Linked DNA regions of Homo sapiens: region 1 is linked to region 2. The links are contacts of gene promoters, found by promoter capture Hi-C in human tissues and cell types (Jung and others, 2019). All regions are on one chromosome and are shown on one strand. The core of a region is centred on a gene start or on the middle of the fragment in contact, and the rest is flanking DNA. Distances in the headings are between cores, read along the strand shown. Region 1 holds the start of LOC105373281 (a long non-coding RNA gene). Region 2 holds the start of DISP1 (dispatched RND transporter family member 1).

Region 1 (7,311 bases), core at 4,415-6,914, 900 kb after region 2:
GGTGACTGTCATATGTCACAGCAGGATGGGTAGTTGGCTGCCCCCAGCCCCCTCCTGCCGCTCCCTGTTCCAGCACCCTGGCCCACCAGCCCCTTCCTGGCAACTCCCATACTCCCCCAGTTCATCCACTAAAGGATTAATAGCTCACTCAGGGGAGGCTTCCTGCCCCTCGGCCAACACCAACTTCCCTTTCAGCAAGCCAGTGTCGGCACTACAGTGGTTTGGAATACTTTCAATATCACTCCCTGTTAACAAGCCTATCCTTGGACTGGCTGAGAAAAGAAATGGAACGGGGCAAAGTAACAAAACAAAGAGGCAAGACAGAGCCAAATGTCTCCTATGGTTACCTAAATCACAATTTAGACAAGCACTGGTGATTCTTGCACATAGAGAACCACCACTGAACTGTACAGGGGAAACTGGTTTCTGCCCCAGAGATGTGTTGGGGAAATGACATACTGACCACCATGACTACATCCTCGGAAGACTGAGTGGCAGAGTGCTACTTTGGCTTTCTTACCAGGTGAACTTGAGCATATATCTGGGCAGTTCTAGAATTTCGATGTGGGAGGGACTTAGGGATGAAAAAAATAAAATGTGGATGGTAGATGGCATTTGGGGCAGGGGATTGGAGGCTTGTCTTGTAGCTGTTTCTGCTTAGTAAGCTCCCTGTTCTGGCTTAGAGACATATTTATTGGGGAGCTTGCTGATGGGAATTATGGACGGGGCCAACTCCTCTCCCAGCACCCTGTGGTGCTGACATCTGAGGTGATCACTTCCCATGGAGTGGAGAAAAGCATGCTGCTCTATATTTGTTCCCTACAACAGGAAGCGTGAAAACAGGATTTGCTGCCACATGTCAAGTACTCATGTGCCTGTAGAAGAAAGGGGCCATTGCTGCTGATGATAACAATGATAGCATCTAAGGTTTTATAGTTCCCCAAATAATTTCACATACACTGTGATTTGATGCTTATAACAACCGTGTGAACTATGCAAAGTAGGTATTATTTCCCCATTTTAAGAGATGGGAGAATGGATAGTTAGTATTTTGAAAATTGCCAGACCCCACACTTATAAGACTACATGTATTATTAGTAAAATTACTACTAGGGGACCCCAGCTATGAAAACCTCTCTGGGAGATAGCACTGGTGGGTGAGGGGCAGCAGCTTCGGCTCTTGCCTCCTGGCAAGGGTGGGATGTAATACCCTAAGCTCCAACAGACTGGGGAAAGAGAAGGGGCTTAGAAAACTGTCTGGGCTGCTGGATTTCTTTCCGGAGTTTCCCTCTCTCCTTCTACTGTCAGCACGTCCCATCTTTTGCAACACCAGGGAGAAGCCTTTCCATGCCTCTTCAGCTCTTGGAATCCCTCCAGAAGCCCCCTCCCTCCTGAGTGGCATCTAACAGGCCTGTCCAATACTCATGCTACAGCTATGAGGAAAGAATAAACCCTGCAGCTGCTTCAGAAGAGAAAGAAATCTCTTTTCAAATGAAACCGTTTTTTGCAGCCCTGTGGAATTCATATTCTCTGTGATCTCCTTTGGATTCAAATCACGGACCTGAAAGAGGGAGGGGAAGAAAACAGGTTCTTTTCCTCTGCCTGGGCCTGCCGTTCCCTCTGCCCTCCTACACTGGGTATGGACAGACCCCAAGGGACCATGGTCTAGGTGTTGGCAGCCAGGCTGGCTCTACAACACAACATGTCAGCTGCTCTGCTGGGCCTCTGTTTACTCATCCATTAAATGAGGAGATAAGATCTCCCTTGACTGGCTGTGAAGATTAAGTGCACAAATATGTGTAAAGTGCACAAATATGTCAAATAAAAACTGAGACTGACACGTGGAGGTGCAAAATTAAAAAGGAAGCTTTGGTTAGTATCTCCAGAACCTGGCTAGGCACGGTGGCTCACATCTGTAATCTCAGCGCTTTGGGAGGCCGAGATGGGTGGATCACCTGAGGTCAGGAGTTCAAGACCAGCCTGGACAACATGGCGAAACCCCGTCTCTATTAAAAATACAAAAATTAGCTGGGCATGGCAGTGAGCCCCTGTAATCCCAGCTACTCAAGAGGCTGAGGCAGGAGAATTGCTTGAACCCGGGAGGCGGAGGTTGCAGTGAGCCGAGATCACGCCACTGCACTCCAGCCTGGGTGACAGAGTGAGACTCCACCTCAAAAAAAAAAAAAAAAAAATCCAGAACCTGCAGATTGTGCCTCTGATGCATCTCAAACATCCAGGGCCAGGGAGAAAATAATCTAAAGAAAAATACTACTGAAAAAGATTCCATTGCCATGGCCCTCTGAGACACACACATTCTTATTCTCTTATTTTCTCTCTCTCTCTCTCTTCTTCTCTCTCTCTCTCTTTCTATCTCTCTCTCTCACTCCCTCTCTCATTTACTCACAAGGTCAGTGGCCCAGACCCAGGCAGTTCTGGATAATCCCAGCTGTTTCTGACTCACCACCATCCTCAGGGCTGGCTGACTCACTCCAGGAAGGTTTTCCACCATGAAGTGTTTGTCTATGTCCTTGTGTTCCCGTGAAAAGGATTGTGTGGTCAGAGAAAGAGAAGACTTTGCTGGGTCAGTGAGATAGCATAGTGTGAGAGGCTTTGGGAAGTAGAAAAAGCAACATTAACTCAGGTTTAAAAACTAGACTTTGTCCAAATGGTTGGGGAAAGTAGTCATTGTATGTGTTTGCAATTAAATTTGGGTGGCATAGGACAGCCTAAAGCCCTTTGTAAGCAGAGCTCTATGTGCGCAGCGATCCCTAGAAGGCTGGCAAGGGGAGTGGCCAGGGCTGCACCAAAGAGGGTGTTGCCTAGCTGGGGAAGAGGAACTTCAGGTGAGCCAGGAGGCTCTTCTGCTCCCAGGCTGTGCAAAGCTTCTGAGTTGACTGGAATGATAGGTCTGATCTGCCCATTTGTTGCTAAAATGACTTAGGAGGGAAATGACCTCCACCTGCCTGGGAGGAGTCACTTCCTCCAGAGATGAGCTGTCCTTGAGGAGATCAGTGGGAGGAGAAGCCTGCGCTCTGCCCCACTGGGCAGAAGGACAAGCTTTCTCCCAAGAGCCTCGAGCCCAGAAGAAGTCGGGGTGGGGCCAATGGAAATCAGACAGTGGAACAAATGAACAGCTTCCAGGACAGGGCTGTCGCTTTCCTCTGTTTTCAATTGTGATGGCTTCATGAAACCCTTGCACCAGAAACCCATGAGCTAGAAATGAATGCCTGTATCCCCATCTCTGGACTCAGAGTCCAGAGTGCCAACCATTACACAATGGAACCTGTGTCCCCGCCTTATTCAAGAGTAAAGAAAGCAAAGCCTGGTGGTGGACGGTGGTACCTGCCCATCAGGCAGCATGCCCAGACTTGCAAACCAGAGATGGAGGATGTCAAATAAAAACAAAACCATGGGAGACTGAGGCAGGAGAATCACTTGAACCGGGAGGCGGAGGTTGCAATGAGCCAAGATCGCGCCATTGCACTCCAGCCCGGGCAACAAGAGTGAAACTCTGTTTAAAAAAAAAAAAAAATCCAGACTTTTATAAAGGGACACTTCAATAGAAAGAAAGACTATTGCAGGCCAGGCGCAGTGGCTCACACCTGTAATCCTAGCACTTTGGGAGGCCAAAGCAGGTGGATCACCTGAGGTCAGGAGTTCAAGACCAGCCTGGCCAACATGAGGAAACCCCGTCTCTACTAAAAATACAAAAAAATTAGCTGCACATGGCGGCTGGTACCTGTAATCCCAGCTACTCAGGAGGCTGAGGCAGGAGAATCACTTGCACCCGGGAGGCGAAGGTTGCAGTGAGTGGAGATTGCACCACTGCACTCCAGCCTGGGCAACAAGAGTGAAACAAGAAAGAAAGAGCGAAAGAGAGAGAGAGAGAGAAAGAGAGAAGGAGAGAAGGAGAGGAAGGGAAGAAGGGAGGGAGAAAGAAAGAAAAAATAGAGAAAAAGAGAAGGAAGGAAGGAAAAGAAAGAAAAGAGAAGAGAAAAGAAAAAAAAAGAGAGAAAGACAATTCCAATTCAGAGAATCTGCAAGCAGCTCAAAATCAAACAGAAAAAGATTCTTCTTTTCTAGGGTAAAGGAGGAGCAAGTGGAGATAAGCAGACTCTTGGGAGGGGAAGCTGGACAAGTGAGGGGAAATGACCAGTGGGAGCTGACAGGAAAAGGGTCTTGCTGTGTTCAGTCAATTCCCAGGAGAAGCTGGGCAGGGAAGTGACTTGGCAGGGACACTCCACTTTGTTTGTGCTTGTTCAGGCTTGGGGGCAAGCAGCATTCAGGGATCTGTAGGAAAGAGAGAAGTCTGACCAAAGTTTTGTCAAGCAAAGGGGGTAAGCAATGGGTGTCAGAGACAAGAATAGATGGGGGCAGAGGAATAATAGTGACAAAAATACTTGCTTTAAGAAAAGGTAACATCATGGCTCTCATATTAGTATAAAATAAACACATTTTAAAGATTCCATTTCGGCAGGGTGCAGTGGCTCACACCTGTAATCCCAGCACTTTGGGAGGCAGAGGTGGGCAGATCACCTGAGGTCAGGAGTTCGAGACCAGCCTAGCCAACGTGGAGAAACCCTGTCCCTACTAAAAATACAAAATTAGCCAGGCATGGTGGCAGGCACCTGTAATCCCAACTACTCGGGAGGCTGAGATAGGAGAATCACTTGAACCTGGGAGGTGGAGGTTGTGGTGAGCCGAAATTGTGCCATTGCACTCCAGCCTGGGCCAACAAGAGTGAAACTCCATCTCAAAAAAAAAAAAGAGTCCATTTAACTTGATTAAACGAGGCAATCTGGTGGATGTTATAACTGGTTCAAAGGAGAAACCAAAGCAGCACAATTTACATGACGTGAAGAGTACTGAAATGGAATATGCAACTAGACAAAAAACTGGTCTCTCTACAGGGGGACTGTAGTGCCTCTACTGGACAGAATGCATTTGCATATCTATAGGAAAAATTATTTTCCATTGCTACAGTTATCTACAACTTAGATTACTTACTTAGAGTTACTTAGGTAACTATACATTGCTACAGTTATATACAACTTAGAGTTATAAAATAACTCAAAAACAATGAAAGGGGCTCGTGTGGTGGCTCACACCTGTAATCCCAACACTTTGGGAAGCTGAGGCAGGCGGATCACCTGAGGTCAGGAATTCGAGACCAGCCTGGCCAACACGGTGAAACCCCATCTCTACAAAAAATATAGAAAATTAGCCAGATGTGGTGGTGTGCACCTGTAATCCCAGCTACGTTGGAGGCTGAGGCAGGAGAATCGCTGGAACCCGGGAGGCAGAAGATGCAGTTAGCTGAGATCGTCAAGATCCTGTCACTGCACTCCAGCCTGGGTGACAGGGTGCTACATCTCAAGAAAAACAAAAACAACAACAACAACAACAAAAACAATGAAAGGCTAGACCCAGATCTTCTGGAAGGAGATGCTCTAAACCAGGGTTTCTCAGCCTCTACATGACTGATGTCTTGGACTAGATCATGTTTTGGGTGGAGAATGTAAACCAAAAATAAAATTCTAAGCCTCCCCCTCCCCTACCCCCGCCAACCATCTAAATGGATGGTTCCTCCTTAGCCGAGGCTCTTAAAATTTTAACCTGAAATTTTCAGGCCATGAAGGAAAGGCAAGGTCGGACATGCTTCATTATACCTCTCCAGCGTGAACATCAACCAGAGTTTAGGTCTGATAAGAAACATTTTACTGCCTGTTCACTCTGAAGCCTGCTAGCTAAAAGCTTCATCTATGTGATAAAACTTTTGTCTCCACAACCTCTTATCGCAACCCAAACATTCCTTTCTATTGATCCTGGGCCTTTAGACAAACTCAACCAATTGTCAACCAGAAAATGTTTAAATATTTACCTATATCCTGGAAGCCACCCCCACTACCCACCCACCACCCCCCGCCACTTTGAGTTGTCCCGCCTTTCTGAACCAAACCAATGTATTTCTTAAATGTACTTGACTGATGGCTCTTGCCTCCCTAACATGTATAAAACCAAGCTGCACCCCAACCACCTCGGGCACATGTCCTCAGGACTTCCTGTGTCACAGGTGTGCATCTTCAACCATGGCAAAAGAAACTTTCTAAATTAAATGAGACCTGTTTCAGATTTTCTGGGTTCACAAGAGCTATCTTGGACATTGGAAGATGTTCAGCGGCATCCCTGGCTTCTACTTAGTAAAGGCCAGTAGCACCTCATCTCCTAGCTGTGACCATAAAAACTATCTCCAGACATTCCCAAATGTCTCCTGGGGTGGGTAGGGGACAAAACTGCCCCCAGTTGAGAACCACTGCTGTAGACCATGCACAGTTTTCCAGTGAAACCCAAATTCTTCCCTACTACTGTAGAGAAGAAGAGGAGGTAATTTCTGCCCATCTGCATTTCTTGGCACGCACCCATGTCTCTGTGTGTGAGATGAGAATCACACCCTAGCTCCACAACAGAGTGGTCACAGTAGCCAACACAGGCAGTATTCTAAATGCTCTCTCCCTATAGTAACCCAACTAATCCTGCCAGTTAAATATGAGTTTCAGGTAAACAATGAATCATATTTTCTTTTAGAATAAGTATGTATGCCCATGCAATATTTGGGCCCTACATATACTTTAAAAGTATCTGTTGTTTATCTGAAATTCAAATTAAACATTTGGGAGGGTTGTTGTTTTATTGGCCAAATCATTTTATTTTATTTTATTTTTGATATGGAGTTTCGCTTTGTCACCCAGGCTGGAGCGCAGTGGCGCGATCTCGTCTCACTGCAACTTCTCCCTCCTGGGTTCAAGCGTTTCTCCTGTCTCAGCCTCCCGAGTAACTGAGATCACAGGTGCCTGCCACGACGTATTTTTAGTAGAGACGGAATTTCACCATGTTGACCAGGCTGGTCTCGAACTCCTGACCCCAGGTGATCCGCCTGCCTCCGGCCTCCCAAAGTGTTGGGATTACAGGTGTGAACTACCGCACCCAGCCTTATTGGCCAAATCTGACAACCCTATCTATAATCAAATAAACAGCTGAGCAGTAGTAATTGCAGCATTGTGATTGCAATAGGCCTCCGGTGGCTTAGAGTCCCTGTTCTGCCTGTGACTGTTGTGCCACATTGGGGACGTCATTTAGCGTCTCCGAGGCTCAGTTTTCTCATCTGTAAAATGGGGACAATATCAGCGCCTTCTTCAGAGTCGCTGGGAGGATTAAATGAGATGATGTATGCAGAGCCGTTAAGACGCTGTTTGGCACAAAGTTCAGGGCAGCTGGTTTAGTTTCCTCGACTTCACTACCTGACCCTCTGCT
Region 2 (7,118 bases), core at 3,366-5,865:
GGAGGAAAATGAAGTGAGGCTTGTGCACCAATCAAACACGTGGAATGCCCATTGCTTTTGCAGAGAAACAAGCAGGATTGGAGTTCAAAAGTATTAACTTGAATAAAAATCCTTAGGAACACATCCACCCAGATTTTTAGTTAATGAGTATCATGCCAAGTCTCCCTGTTATGTTTCTTTTACACATGGAATTTCCATTGGTTTAGCTCTTAAAGAGGTCTGAAGCAGAACGGCATCCCTGTGGAAATCACATGTTTTATTTGGATTCCACAGGAGAAAAGAGCTGAAAAGGGCAAAATATTATTTCTATTAGAAATGTATTTACTTCAAGAAGATATGAATCAGTGCTAAAAATGTTTTTGCAGGATATACAAACATAAAATTACATCAAAACACTGAGGGGAGAAGGAAATGGAGAATTATTGTTTAATGGATACAAAGTATCATTTTTGGGAAGATGAAAAATTTCTGGGCTGGGTGCGGGGGCTCATGCCTGTAATCCCAACAGTTTGGGAGGCTGAGGCAAGAGGATCGCTTGACCCCAGGAGATCGAGACTAGCCTGGGCAACATAAGAAGACCCCCATCTCTTAAAAAAAAATACAAAAATTAGCCAAACATGGTGTTGCATGCCTGTAGTCCCAGCTACTCAGGAGGCTGAGGTCAAAGGACGGCTTGAGCCCAGGAGATAGAGACTGCAGTAAGCCCAGATTGCAGCACTGCACTCCAGCCTGGACAACAGTGCCAAATTTCTGGAGATGATGACGGTGAGTAATATTTGCACATCATTAGGAAGGAAATGGCACTTTAAATTTAGTAATTAATTTTTCACTTTATGTAAGAGATGTTAAGATCTTCATAGAAAATATCTGGCCTTTAATAAGCTGCAGAAGAGTTAGGAATTATTAATTGGAGATCCCTGGCTGACCTTATTTATCACTCATTTCATAATCTGTAATTAATGCAAGTTTGGTGTTGTGATTGCTTCCAAGTGTAGACTAGTTGATTTTGCCACAAATTTCTAAATTACTGGATTTAGTAGTAATTTAGTAAATTGCCACTAAATTACAAAGGGACGAGGATATAGTTTTAGACATAACTGCAAATATATCGATGTTTATGTTGGTGGTAAAAAAAAAAAGTAAGGAAACGACATATACCCATGTATGAACTAAAGAGAATGTAGAATGTGTAAATAAACTTTATGAATAACTAACCTTATTAGCTCTGTTAATTAACCCATCTACCTGTTTGAGCCAGTTGGCGAGTACGGAAAAAAAAAGTAGGAAAATTTTCCTTAAAATTTTCTCTCCTGATTCAGATTAACATATTCACTATCTACTGTCACCCACAAATGGCTTTTGAACAGCTCTCACAGTTCCGCAGTCAGGCTGATGCCATTATACAGATGTGGGTAAACTCCAAAGATCAGGAGCTGAGTGGGAGGAGACTGAATAGTGCACTTTCAAGGATTTCACAGTAGTTTCCTCAGTTGTTGAGAGACGAGATTGTTAGCTAATCCTGTCTCTGGGACTACTGAACTATTTAGCCTTAGGAAAACCACTATGCCTAGCTGGAAGGGCATTAGTTCCTTCCTCTGTTGACATGCATGGTTTCCAAAGTCTCCTTCCACTTTACACTCTGATTGCATGATTCTCCCCACCTGTGTGATTTTAATAGTTAAAGTCATCTAACCCATGGTAATTGTGACAGTTTTCCTGAATGGACCAGGCAGCCATGGAGGTGTGCAAATCCTTCTCCTGTTCTTGAGTCTGAGGAGAGAAAGTGGCTCCAGAACTCTGGTGCATGCTATAGAATGAGTGGGCAACCTTGTGTCTTGTGAATTGATGTCTTGGGGTTTGATTGCTAGGAGGGGAAACCTACTAAAATGATTCTTAACCAAATGGGGGGTTTACTGGAAGGACACGGAATTTTCGTAGAACTTAAGGGCAGAACATTTAGCTGGATCTCATAAGGGACTGGGGAATCAGAAACTGAAAAGAAGGGAACTAAGATGTTCACCTCTCAGATAAGTCTTCTCTTTTTCCATCTTTCTCTCCTTATCCTTATTTCCTTCTCATCATTCCTGTTGCTTTCCCCCTTTTCCCATCAGTTTTGAACATCTTACTCATGCCTAACCTAATTCTAGGTTTGGACATTTCTAATTTAGCATGCAAGAGTGGAGCCCTATATGTGCATTGCAAAATCCATGCATGTGAGACTTTCTAGGCCTGTTTGAGTTCAGTGTTCATATTTGGTCTGGTTTGCTGTGGCAATGAGTATGGTTCGTTCAGCTCAGTGCCCATTCAGAAGAGACTCTTGGAGCACATTATCTTAAACAAGGATTGGAAATGAATATGCTCCTTAAGATTATTTTGGTTGCAAGCAGCAGCAATCTTCTTTGACTAGCCAAAAAAAAAAAAGTTTTGGAATTATACAGGGATATCTCCTATAACCAAAGGAAACAGGGCAGGTCCTGGATCTTTGGCAAAGGGTGTTAATAGATTTTTTCTTTAGGGAACTGCCATTTGTGACTCAGTTCTACTGAGTAACTATATTCTCTCTGTGTTTCTCTATGCCTCATTTAAGATTTCTGGGGCAAAGAGTCTAAATGGTCTGGTTTAGGATATGCCCACCTCTGAATTAATCTGTTATGTAGACAAGGGACATGGTAGCGCAACCAACTTGTCTCAGTTTTCGCAAAACTATCCCAGTTTAAGCACCGAAAGTCCAGCATCCTGGTATCCCCCTGTCTTTAGCAAACCAGAGTAGCTGGTCACACTAGGACATGGTCGCTTGTGCATATGTGGCCCATAAAAGGACTGCCTCTATGTATTTCAGCCATTCCTACAAAAAAAGGAATTGTGAGAAGCTATAAGGAAACATTTCACAGAGTGTCTATTACATTCTACTTCTTGGCACCCAGCGTGGGCACACACACACACACACACACACACACACACACCCCCCACATCACACCACATACACACTCTCTTCTTTCCATCCTTTCAAAAATACACCTTGCCGCTATGTGAATCAGTTATTTCAAGTATCACCACAAATGGACTACTAACCTTCCCAATGGGAGAAAACCCAAACGCGTGACCTTTTACTTCACTTAGAGTTGATGTTATGCCCTCTAAGTACAGACTTTCTACACGATATCCATTCCTCATTTTCTTCTACTGTAATCCTATCTCCATATATTGCAATGTATGGCCTTTTGCTGGCAAAAGGAGAAAAAAAGAAAAATGTATGTATTATACCATTCCTTTTTAAAAAGGCAAAGAAAGGGCTTGGTGTGCAAGAGAGTATTTATTAAACACTGGTAGCAAAGAAAACAAACAAAAAATGCAACAGTCCTCATTACTGTAGCTGGTGTTGAAGCTTCTTTCTTCTGGGCCCATTCCATAGTTCCCTGTGACTTCAGTTAGCATCTCAGTTGGTTGGGGTGATTTGCTCAATGCAGCAACCTGAGGGGTATGATCCCTTGTGGTCCTGCCTTTATAGGGTTGTGGTAGCCGTCTATTGCCTTTACATCTGGGTATGGCAGTTCAAGAAAGCACCCTCAAGGATAAAACATGCTATTCATGATGTATTATTTTTCTTTGATGACTAGGACAATCCCCCTAGTCAACCCCATGACTCACTGTTTTGTCTATTCCCTTAGATGACCCCACGGATTCCGTTGCACGGAGTCTCTGAAGTCCAAAATTTTTAAGCATAGGGCACAACGTTCTTCATGATTTGGCCTTGTCTCTTCTCATTATGCTTGCTCTTGCATCTGCCATCTGACACTTTGCTTAACTCCTGGCCAGCTACCGGTACAAGCCAAGCTCTCACTCCATAACGTCCTTCTTCTCTGCATGCCCTTCTCCACTGTGCCTGTCCTTTAACTCTTATTCATCATTTATTTCAGTCTCAATTGAAGAGTCATTATTTCTAGAAAGCCTTCTCCGCCCAGCTCTCTACATTGCACCGTTCCCTACAGCACCACCAGAGTGCCTCTAACACTTGATGGTTTCATTGCTTATATATTTTTGTTTCTGTGCATAAGCCTCCCGAGGGAGCCGCCGCTGTTCGATTTATTCTATAGCTAGTTCCTCGCCCTGAGTGTAAGCCTCACGAGAGTGGGGCTGTCCTCTGTTCGCTCTATCCCCAGCCCCTACAGCAGTGCCTGGTTGTTCACAGGCCTATATAGCAGGTGATAATAATCTGAATAATGAAAGAAGAAACACTGTCTTGTGGCGTGATTTACTTCTGTTTTTACTTATGTCAACTTTTAACTAGATTGTGAGGACAGAGGTCAGTGTCTGAGTCATCTTGTGCCTCACTGGGCTTGGGCAGAATAGACGCTTGGTCAAGCATTTGCACACTGGTCGATGGATACACTAGAAAGAGCAGGAGCGCGAGAGGGAATTTTTTTGGCGCCTGCCTCGCCCTTTCAAGCCAAGCCCCTCTGCCCTCTGCCCCTTGCCAGCCGCCCGTCGCCCGCCGCCGGCGATCCCTCTCCCGGGGAGCGGTAGTCAAGCGAGGCCAGCGGGCCGGGAGCGGGCCGGGAGCGGGCGAGGGGCGGGACTTCCGGTCCCGCTCGCGACGCGGACCGCGCCAGGCGGAAGCCCGGCTCCGGGCCAGCATCCGAGAGCCCGGACTGGAGGTGAGTTCGCAGCCGGAACGTTGCAGGCACTTGTTTCCTCAGTGGATGCCTTTCGGCGCGCCGCCGCCCGGCGCCGCGGGACTGGGAGACCGGGTAGGGACGGGAGAGTCGGCATCTCCCGCGCGTGTGGAGGGAAATCCGGGACCCCAGGCTTGAGAGAAGGGCCAGGACTGAGAACGGGGAACCAGGAGAGCCCTAAGGGCAGCCTTTAGGGACTGAGGAGGGAGGCACCGGGGACCCTGAGGCCAAAGAGGCCCTGAGACTGGAGGTTGCGGATGACACGGGGCAGAGTTGCATCTCGGAGGAAAGTAGTCATTCGTGGGGGCGTGTCCCGGGTCCTGGCGGATTGACTGAGAGGATGGCAGGAGATGGCAAAGGTTGGCTTCCAGGGAGAGGTTACAGAGGAGGGAGTCAGTCCTTCTCTGAGGGTCGTAGGTGAGAAGGACGTCTTGACCTAACGAACCAGAAAGATGACCAGCCACCTATTGGATGCTGAACTCCTATTGCTTCATTTGCAATTCATGCAGTTTGTTTTTTGTTTTTAGAAATATATCCCGCTCCGCGCGTGTGGATTTCGGGAAAATATTGTATATTCCTAGGGACCGCTCGAATTCTTGCTTCACCCAGATTCTGCGTGTCTTTGTCAAACTGATAGTAGTTGAGAGTTCTCTTCACCCAAGGAAGACAACCAAAGTTTTCCTTTTGGACTCTTCTCTACCCTGCAGAGTTTAGCTTGTCTTATTTCCCTTGTCATGGGATGAACTAAATGCGTTCAGAATTATGGTGATAATCACATGGAAAGCCAGTGCTGTCAATGTTTGCAGTTTCAACTCATTGTTTTTCTGTCCAACTTTCTAACACATTTTTTCTAAAAGCTATTTTGTTGGGTTTAGTCTTTTAGTTTAACCAATAAAGGCAATTTTACATCAGGGTGCAGCAAATTACTAGCAGTTCTTAAGATTTTACTGTTCCTTTTTATTTCTGCTGTAAGGAAATATATATATATATATATATATATATATATAAATATTTGCCATTGTCAGTGTTTTTTAAAAATATTGATAACCCAAGATCTGTTGTTACACGCACATTAGCACATTTAGTTTTCCCCAGTGGCCAGTGTTTGGTATGTGGGCTCATTATTATTACCAAAGGTAATTATTGATTTAGTTATTATTTACCTTGCATTTATGTTTTATTGGATGTGATTAATATGTGCTTCCTAATCTACATAATATAGTGTTTCACTCAGTGTAATTACAAAGATTCTCCTAGCTTTTAAGTAGGTAGTAAGTGAATTGGATTTTTGCCACAAAGTGAGCAAGGTAGCTAGGAAGAATCATAACACTGTCACTGATGGAGGGTGAGATCTGATGATTGCTTTGCTTGTTTCAGGTGTTTCACATTTCAAATGTTAGAAGTTTTTGTTTTAAAAATTACTGTATTAGTACAGGTAACTTTTAGATCTGATTTGGTGGTCTGACTTGAACTAATTCAGGAAAACTAGAACATTTTATATTTATTGGTACTGCGATATCTTGCTAGCTTATAAATTCTTGATGGCCTTGAATATCTGTGCTTGAGTGAAATACACAGTTATAACGTCCTTATGTTTAGGAGGACTGCTGATATTTACAAGTGTAAAGCAAGGCCTAAACATAAACAGTGCCTTAACATGTAAATGAGCATATTGAATAAGTTTTCAAATTACAAAATGAAGAGATAACACTGATCTCTAAAGTAATTGAATTAACTGCCATGTTAATTTCTGTATATGTCTCAATTTAATCTTATTTGTTTAAGTAGACAATATTGTTTATCTGATAAGACTTGATTTTATTTTTCTTCCGCCTTTTCCCATGGTTTTTGAGAAATAAAGCACTTGAGAAAGCATGCAAGTCTTTAGACATTAGTTCATGGTTGGAGGAAGTGCTCGTTGTTGAAACACAAGAGCACTTGCCCTCTTGGGCAAGTTGGGCTAGCTATATATATGAATGGTATGTTGAGGTTGGATTGCCCTGTATTCCGGAAAATCTTTGGAATTGTATTCTTTCTTCTAATTGTTTAGTAAATTTAGCTTTCTCTCTAGATAAATTATTTTTGTTATTCCGTAGGATTTAGATGTATTTTACAGTTTAACCAATAATGGCAGTTTTTGATTAAGTACAGCGAACTGCTGGCTATTTTATAGATTCACTATTTCTTTTTATTTCTGAAATATGTACAGTGTCTGTATTGGAAGAACTATCAAAATAGTGATAACCAAAACACTGTCTTCATATACACATACATTTGTCTTCCTTAATCTCTAGTTTGTAAAATACGAAATAATTTGCTAAGTTGAGCTCGTTGCTTCTATGCCCTTTGGTTATCAATTTTCTGATTATATAGTACGTTCTCAATTATCGGCATACTCTAGTTAGAAAGCCATTTCCTGCCACTTGATAGAATCAAGAATATTTG

Evidence for each region. Contacts are between HindIII fragments. The study calls those that stand out against the background at their distance.
Region 1: a fragment that was not itself captured here is called in contact with the fragment with the promoter of DISP1 in region 2 in 1 of the 25 tissues and cell types used here (hippocampus).

The regions. Positions count from the first base shown.
Region 1 is chr1:223,704,907-223,712,217 of GRCh38, forward strand. LOC105373281 (a long non-coding RNA gene) reads right to left here and starts at 2,744. Exons shown (of 3, transcript XR_949164.2): 1 at 2,462-2,744. It also overlaps a transcript of CAPN2 not described here. RefSeq lists enhancers at 1,753-2,952, 2,953-3,452, 7,230-7,279. The HindIII fragment of the contact is 6,580 bases long and covers 2,375-7,311 here.
Region 2 is chr1:222,810,424-222,817,541 of GRCh38, forward strand. DISP1 (dispatched RND transporter family member 1) reads left to right here and starts at 4,616. Exons shown (of 9, transcript NM_001377229.1): 1 at 4,616-4,655. RefSeq lists an enhancer at 4,007-4,066 and silencers at 4,307-4,386, 4,477-4,576. The HindIII fragment of the contact is 9,383 bases long and covers 1,672-7,118 here.